Regions from separate parts of the Homo sapiens genome. Here region 1 is linked to region 2. The links are contacts of gene promoters, found by promoter capture Hi-C in human tissues and cell types (Jung and others, 2019). All regions are on one chromosome and are shown on one strand. Each heading gives the region's core, a stretch centred on a gene start or on the middle of the fragment in contact. The rest is flanking DNA. Distances are from core to core; before and after follow the strand shown.

Region 1 (3,995 bases), core at 169-2,668, 1.4 Mb before region 2:
CGCTGTCTCTATAAAATATACAAAAAATTAGCCAGGCATGGTAACACATGCCTGTAGTCCCAGCTACTTGGGAAGCTGAGGTGGGAGGATAACAGGAGCCTGGGAGGTTGAGATTGCAGTGAGCTGTGATCACGCCGTTGCACACCAGCCTGGGCAATGAAGTGACACCAATCTCAAAAACAAAAAAACAAAAAAACAAAAAAACAAAAAAAAAACCCGCATACTTTAAGAGAATTAAAAACAGTATAGGAATTAAGTAAAAGATAAATATATGAGGAAATATTGGCAGTAGGAGAGGTATGTAGATCAATGTAACAGAATAATGACTCTAAAAATAGACCTAGAAGTTTCAGAGTGATTCAATAGGGAAAAGAATAGTCTTTCAATAAATGGTGCTAGAATAATTGGACATTTGTATGGAAAATTACGACCTCCCTTCTTACCTGGTATCATATATAAAAATAAACTCAAAACGAATGAGACCACCATATAAGAATTAAAACAATAAAATTCCCTAAAAAAAATACACACAAAAAATTTTGTGATATTGGTTAGGCAAACATTCCTTAGCAAGAAATGCTAAGAAATGAATGAACTACTAAAGAAAAAAGATAATGTGGACTTCATCAAAATTAAAACTTCAGCTCTTGAAAGACACTGCAAGGAAATTTGAAAAGGCAAACAACTAGAATTGCAGAAAATATTAGCAAACACACAATAATATCTATATTGTGCAGGAAAACTTTCCTTAGAAATTTACAACTCAAGAAGATGATGCGATTAAAAACCTGCAAAAGAGGAAAAGAGAGAAGAATCAAAAAGACACAATAAAAATGTTAAAGGGGATATCACCACTGATCCCACAGAAATAAGAACTACCATCAGAGAATACTATAAACACCTCTATGTAAATAAACTAGAAAATCTAGGAGAAATGGATAAATTCCTGGACACATACACCCTGCAAAGACTAAACCAGGAGGAAGGTGAACCCCTGAATAGACCAAAAACATGTTCTGAAATTGAGGCAGTAATTAATAGAATAGCCTATCAACCAAAAACAAACAAAAAAAGCCCAAGACCAGACGGATTCACAGCTGAATTCTTCCAGAGGTACAAAGAGGAGCTGGTACCATTCCTTCTGAAACTATCCCAAACAATAGAAAAAGAGGGACTCCTCCCTAACTCATTTTATGAGACCAGCATCATCCTGATACCAAAACCGGGCAGAGATATAATAAAAAAAGAAAATTTCAGTCCAATATCCCAGATGAACATTGATGCAAAAATCCTCAATAAAATACTGGCAAACTGAATCCAGTAGCACATCAAAAAGCTTATCCACCACAATCAAGTCTGCTTCATCCCTGGGATGCAAGGCTGGTTCAACATATTCAAATCAATAAACGTAATCCATCACATGAACAGAACCAATGACAAAAACCACATGATTATCTCAATAGATGCAGAAAAGACCTTCGATAAAATTCAACATCCCTTCATGCTACAAACTCTCAATAAACTAGGTATTGATGGAACATATCTCATAAGAGCTATTTATGACAAACCCATAGCCAGTATCATACTGAATGGGCAAAAGCTGGAAGCATTCCCTTTGAAAACCAGCACAAGACAAGTATGCCCTGTCTCACCACTTCTATTCAATGCAATATTGGAATTTCTGGCCAGGGCAATCAGACAAGAGAAAGAAATAAAGGGTATTCACATCGGAAGAAGAAAGTCAAGTTGTCTCTGCTTGAAGACAACATGATTCTATATTTAGAAAACACCATTGTTTCAGCCCAAAAACTCCTTAGGCTGATGAGCAACTTCAGCAAAGTCTCAGGATACAAAATTAATGTGCAAAAATCACAAGCATTCCTATACACCAATAATAGACAAGCAGAGAGCCAAATCATAAGTGAACTCCCATTCACATGTGCTACAAAGAGAATAAAATACCTAGGAATAAAACTTACAAGGGACATGAAGGATCTCTTCAAGGAGAGCTACAAACCACTGCTCAAGGAAGTAAGAGGACACAAACAAATGGAAAAACATTCCATGCTCATGGATAGGAAGAATCAATATTGTAAAAATGGCCATACTGCCCAAAATAATTTATAGATTCAATGCTATTCCAATCAAGCTACCAGTGACTTTCTTCACAGAATTAGAAAAAACTACTTTAAATTTCATGTGGAACCAAAAAAGAACCTGTATAGCCAAGACAATCCTAAGCAAAAAGAACAAAGCTGGAGGCATCACACTACCTGACTTAAAACTATACTACAACAATATAGTAACCAATACAGCATGGTACTGGTACCAAAACAGATATACAGAGCAATGTAACAGAACAGAATCCTCAGAAATAACACCACACATCTACAACCATCTGATCTTTGACAAACCTGACAAAAACAAGTGATGGGGAAAGGATTCCCTGTTTAATAAATGGTGTTGGGAAAACTGGCTAGCCATGTGCAGAAAACTGAAACTGGACCCCTTCCTTACACCTTATACAAAAATTACTCAGGATGGATCAAAGACTTAAATGTAAGAACTAAAACCATAAAAACCCTAGAAGAAAACCTAGGCAATACAATTCAGGACATAGGCATGGGCAAAGACTTCATGACTAAAACACCAAAATCAATGGCAACAACTGACAAATGGGATCTAATCAAACTGAAGATCTTCTGCATAGTAAAATAAACAATTATCAGAGTGAACATGTAACCTACAGAATGGGAGAAAATTTTTGCAATCTATCCATCTGACAAAAGGCTAATATCCAGAATCCACAAGGAACTTCAACAAATTTACAAGAAAAAAAAAATCCCATCAAAAAGTGGGTGAAGGATACGAACAGACACTTCTCAAAAGAAGACATTTATGTGGCCAACAAATATATGAAAAAAACTCATGATCACTGGTCATTAGAGAAATGCAAATCAAAACCAATGATTTTGATGATGAGATACCATCTCATTCCAGTGAGAATTCTGATTATTAAAAAGTCAGGAAACAACAGATGCTGGCTAGGCATTGGAGAAATAAGAATGCTTTTACACTGTTGGTGGTAGTATAAATTAGTTCAACCATTGAAGAAGACAGTGTGGCAATTCCTCAAGGTTCTACAACCAGAAATACCATTTGACCCAGCAATCTCATTAGTGGTCATATACCCAAAGGATTATAAATTATTCTACTATAAAGACACATGCACATGTGTGTTTATTGCAGCACTATTTACAACAGCAAAGACATGGAACCAACCCAAATGCCCACCAATGATAGACTGGATAAAGAAAATGTGGCACATATACACAATGGAATACTACACAGCCATAAAAAAGAATGGGTTCATGTCCTTGCTGGGACATGGATGAAGCTGGAAGCTATCATTCTCAGCCAACTAACACAGGAACAGAAAACCAAACACTGCATGTTCTTACTCATAAGTGGGAGTTGAACAATGAGAACACATGGACACAGGGAGGGGAAAATCACATACCAGAGCCTGTCAGCGGGTGGGAGGCAAGGGAGGGACAGCATTAGGACAAATACCTAATCCATGCGGGGCTTAAAACCTAGATGATGCATTGATAGATGCAGCAAACCACCCTGGCACATGTATACCTATGTAACAAACCTGCACATTCTGCACATGTATCCCAGAACTTAAAGTAAAATAACAACAAAACAAAAAATGTGCAAAAGATTTAGCTTCACAGAAGAAGATATAAGAATGTGAATAACCACTTGAAAAGTTGTTAATGTTATTAGTCATGAATAAAATGCAAATTAAAGCTAAATTGAATTACCAGTTTACATCCACTAGATTGGCCAAAATTAAAGATTCATATTACCAAGTGCTGACAGGGATCCAGAGAAACTGGAACTTTTATACTTTGCTGGTGAGGTTGTAAAATAGTATAACCACATGGAAAACAGTCTGGCAGTTTCAAATAAAGTTAAAAATATCTATA
Region 2 (4,564 bases), core at 666-3,165:
CTCCACCTCCCGGGTTCAAGCGATTCTCCTGCCCCAGCCTCCTGAGTAGCTGGGACTACAGGCATCAGCCACCATGCCCGACTAATTTTTGTATTTTTAGTAGAGATGGGGTTTCACCATGTTGACCAGGCTGGTCTCAAACTCCTGACCTCGTGATCCGCTCCCCCCTCGGCCTCTCGAAGTCTTTTTTTTTTTTTAGACAGCGCCTCGCTCTGTTGCCCAGGCTGGAGAACAATGGCGTGATCTTGGCTCCCTGCAACCTCCGCCTCCTGGGCTCAAGTGATCCTCCCACCTCAGCCTCCCCAGTAGCTGAGACTACAGGTGGATGCCATCACGCCCAGCTAATTTTTGTATTTTTAGTAGAGACTCCTGACCTCAAGTGATCCGCCCTCCTTCGCCTCCCAAAGTGCTGGGATTACAGGCGTGAGCCACCGTGCCGGGCAGGGAGATCATTTTCTGCACCCCAACAATATCAAAGAAAAACATGCAATCAATTTAAACTCAGGAAATCTTACTTCAGCTCTATGCCCTCATTAGTACTAATACCATATTTCTTTATTCGAATGTCTACTGGTAATTTATCTTTAAAATCAAAGAAACTTCTCCCTGAACCAGTATTTTTAGAAGAAAAAAACATAAAGATGTAAATTTTGTTTGGTAAGAACTAGTTTCTATGAATCATCTAATGAATTAGTACTTCAATGACTTGCCAATATTTGTCCTTAACTCCCTTTCATAGGTTGGAGAAAGTATGGCTAACATAGATAATTTTACTGAGGTCAATTATGAATAATGAGGGTTGTTCATCTCTTCTACCCACGATTAAGATAAAGAAATGCCTAGAGAAAGACAGTCCTTTCAAGGACTTTGAAACGAGCAGCTTTTAGCCAAGACATACTAACGTGATGGCGCATTTCCTTGCATCAGTATTGTGTTATAACAGACTTGGCCATCTTATCAGAAAGCAAAAAGTATATAGCAAAACTTTACTTTTGTAAGTAAGGCATTGGGAAGAAACAGAAGATTCATTGACTGCATTTGTTTATATTGATTTTCTCAAAATCAGTTGTTTATTTTCAATGACGACGCCTCTACCGCCACCAGGTCAACAAAAACGTACTTGCTTTTGCATTTCCGGGACTCTAGCATTTCAGAGCAGGAATTAAAGGCCTTGCCAAGGCTTTTAAGCGATTGATGGAAACAAAACAAAACACAGAAGGATAAATTTTGAATTTGCTAAGACAAGAATTCGCACCAAGGCAGACATAAGACATGAGGATGTCTTCCTGACTTGCGTCCTTGGCTCGAATCGTTCTTATTAGCCCTTTTCAAAAGGCAGCTGTGACCTCCATTTCTGGCTAATCAGGCCACTTTTGTTCCCCCCGAGGCGTGGGAGGACAACAGTTAAGCCCTAACAGCCTGCGAAGCAGCTCCTCGACGAACGGCGGCGTCCCCGTCGCCTGGGCAGTGGGTGTGGGAGGTGACAGCCTAGTCCTGAGCCTCTGGAGCGGGCCTATACTGCACCGCCGTACGTGAATTTCAGGAGCGCGCAATGCCGCCACCTGGGAAGGGTGCAGCGAGGCTGACCTGAGTTTGCCCGCCGGGGTGGACGGCTCTCCGGGGCCCCCGGGGTCCCTGGGGCCCCTCCGTGCGCCGCCCCCTCCCGCGCAGCCCTGCACCCTGGCCCGTCGCGCCCGGTTCCGCGCCCTTCTAGGGGACCATGGCGACGGTACAGGCACGGACCTGCACCGCAAAACCCAAAGCAAAAGCAACTTGCCATGGCGGAGGGGAGACGCGCCCTCAGCGGCCGCAGAAAGCCCACAACCAGCGGAACGCAGGCGATGGGGAGAGGAGCGAGCAGGCAGGTTTTGGTTTCGTTTTTTGTTCCAGCTCCCTTGGAGGCTACGAAGAAAAGGGCGGTCCTTCCACCCGATCCGGCTGTTCTGCGACCTCGTGGCCTCTGAGTGGGAGCTCGGACTCAGGAGTGCTGTTGCCAGCGCCTGCCCAGACGCCCTCCGTAGTTTTGCAACTTGTGGAAGCACTCTGGAGAGAGGCCGAGAGGATTCCTCGACAGGAAATTTGGGAATTCTCTGGGTGATGCATCAGTGATTGCAATTTTGTTTTTACCCGTTTTGCTAAGCAGCAGCAACAACGGCAGAGTTGATTTAAAAAAAGAAAAAACGCAAAAAGGGAAAACACATAGTAGGTGGTGGCCGCTTCCTGTGTTGATACTGGGGGGCTACGCTTTTCCTAACATCAATCATCTCGTAGTTGCAGAGAGCCCTAGATGTCATGATAGTTTTGAATCGCATGCATTATCATGTAAGGGAGTTAAATATCTTGCATGCATGCTCTCTTCTGTGTTTATATATTCGATGCCATGAAATTGAAGGGCATGTGGCTAAAACCTTTTTACTACATGAAACTTTACAACACTTTTGAAAACATTTCAATTTGGTTGATGCGCACTGTAATATTTCTCCAGATAACTGTCCAAAATTTTCCATGGAGAAGGCTTTTATCCTCATTAGTTGCTGGCCTCAAACTAACCATCTAGGATATTAAACTTCTGCCAGAATTTTACATCCAGCTACCTTTACTTTTTAGAACGTATTCTCTATCATGTTATTGATATCAATTTCTACTTCACACAGATGGTTTTTTACAACAGCAAATCAAGTTTTTCTAACATCAGTTTTAAAAAGCCCTGCACTCAGTGAAATCTGGATGTCTTTCCTACGCCCTTATTATCTGTCCAGACTTCTTCCCCTTCCCCCACCGCTCACCTGGGCCTTTTCCTCTGCACAACCTACCCCAGTTCCCCAACCCCCACCTCAACCCCCAACGCCGTGTTGGTCACCTTCCCAGCCCAGACCAGGAGCCCTCTTGGACCTCTGCCGGGTGCTAAGGACACAGGATGAGAGCGCCAGGTCCCTGCCAGCAGAGAGCTCACCACCTTGTCCATGCCTTAGCACAGGAACCCCGAATGGCGCCTGTGGGGACACAGGGAATCTCTGGACAAACTTCAAAATCAAATCAATGAATGCATGAAGAACAAAGGTAGATGGCTAGCAGATATGAAGAAACCCAATCCCACTCCTAAGAAATGTAAATTGAAATAATAAGATACCATTTTTCACAACTAGATCTGCAAAACCAGAAAGTGTTAGCCTGAATGTAAGCATCAGAGTTGCTGCAAGCATAGATGGATGCAAATACTTCTAAAGATTTTTATCAAAATGTAAAGTGCAAAAAAATGTAAAATGCACATATTCTTAGTCTCAGCAATTCTACTTTTAGAACTGAACTTGAAGTTATAGTGCGCAAATGGCACTAAGATATTGTATAGAAATTTTAGTTGTACATTGCTTGAAATACAGGTAGTAATAATTTTTTTATAAACTGGGATCCACCTAGTTTATCATTGGATGGAGCTATTTGTTATACGGCTGATGATATATCAGTAAGGCACAAGGCTATGAAGATTTTAAAACAGAATGAGGTAGGGGGAAGTGGCTCCCGCCTGTATTCCCAGAACTTTGGGAGGCCAAGGTGGGCGGATCATTTTGAGCTCAGGAATTCAAGACCAGCTTGAGCAACATGGTGAAACCCGTCTGTACTAAAAATACAAAAATTAGCCGGGCGTGGTGGCACACACCTGTAATCTCAGCTACTCGGGAGGCTGAGGCTAGAGAATCGCTTGAACCCGGGAGGCAGAGTGAGCCAAGATCACACCACTGCACTCCAGCCTGGGCGAGAGAACAAGACTCTATCTCAAGAAGGAAAAAAAAAAAAAACAGCATGAGGTAGATCTGTATGTAATTCCCCAATTTATATTTTATCTCCAGATTTATATATCTAAGTGCCCACTTGAATGTCAAACAAGCATCTGAAATTTAACAAGTAGAACTCCAGAGCAAGACTCTGTCTCAAGAAAAAAAAAAAAAAACAGAATGAGGTACATCTGTATGTAATTCCCCAATTTATATTTTATCTCCAGATTTTATATATCTAAGTGCCTACTTGAATGTCAAACAAGCATCTGAATTTAACAAGGAGAACCCTTCTTCTCCCCTTCTTAATTCCCTCTCAAGAATTGGCAGCACTGTCTACCCATGAGCTCAAGCTCATGACCCAGTTCTTGATTTCTCTTTTCCTCATCCTTCTTAGTATACCCCAACAATGGGCCTTCCAGAGGGACCCAGTATCAGTCCCTCTTTCCAGCTGCATCCCTACCATCCTCATCCAGTCTCCATCCTCTCTAGCTCCTCAGTCCATTCTTGCTACCATACCCAGAAGGATCTTTTTAAAATGTAAATCAGATTCGACTTCTGTTTAAACACATCATTGTTTGCATTGCTTTCACCTGAGCCACAATGACCTTGATCCTTTTTTTTCTGGCCAGATCTCCTACCACTGCCCTGACCCTCTGCTGCAATCGCAACAAGCTATCAGCCTGGGAGTTTTGCCTGACCTATGTACTGTGTCCCTGCCTCAATAGCTCCGCCCTGATCTTCACTTGACTGGCTCCTGCTGTCACTTGGGTCTTAGCTACAATAATGTT

What was found. The method cuts DNA at HindIII sites, captures the fragments that hold promoters and counts their contacts. A contact is called where the count stands out against the background at its distance.
Region 1: a fragment that was not itself captured here is called in contact with the fragment with the promoter of RBM43 in region 2 in 1 of the 25 tissues and cell types used here (dorsolateral prefrontal cortex).

The regions. Positions count from the first base shown.
Region 1 is chr2:149,910,118-149,914,112 of GRCh38, forward strand. No RefSeq gene overlaps it. Among named protein-coding and RNA genes, the nearest start is that of LINC01931, 53 kb to the left of the region's middle. The HindIII fragment of the contact is 4,284 bases long and covers 1-3,560 here.
Region 2 is chr2:151,259,948-151,264,511 of GRCh38, forward strand. RBM43 (RNA binding motif protein 43) reads right to left here and starts at 1,916. Exons shown (of 4, transcript NM_198557.3): 1 at 1,778-1,916. The coding sequence starts at 1,780. RefSeq lists a silencer at 1,460-1,729 and an enhancer at 1,770-1,999. The HindIII fragment of the contact is 11,595 bases long and covers 1-4,564 here.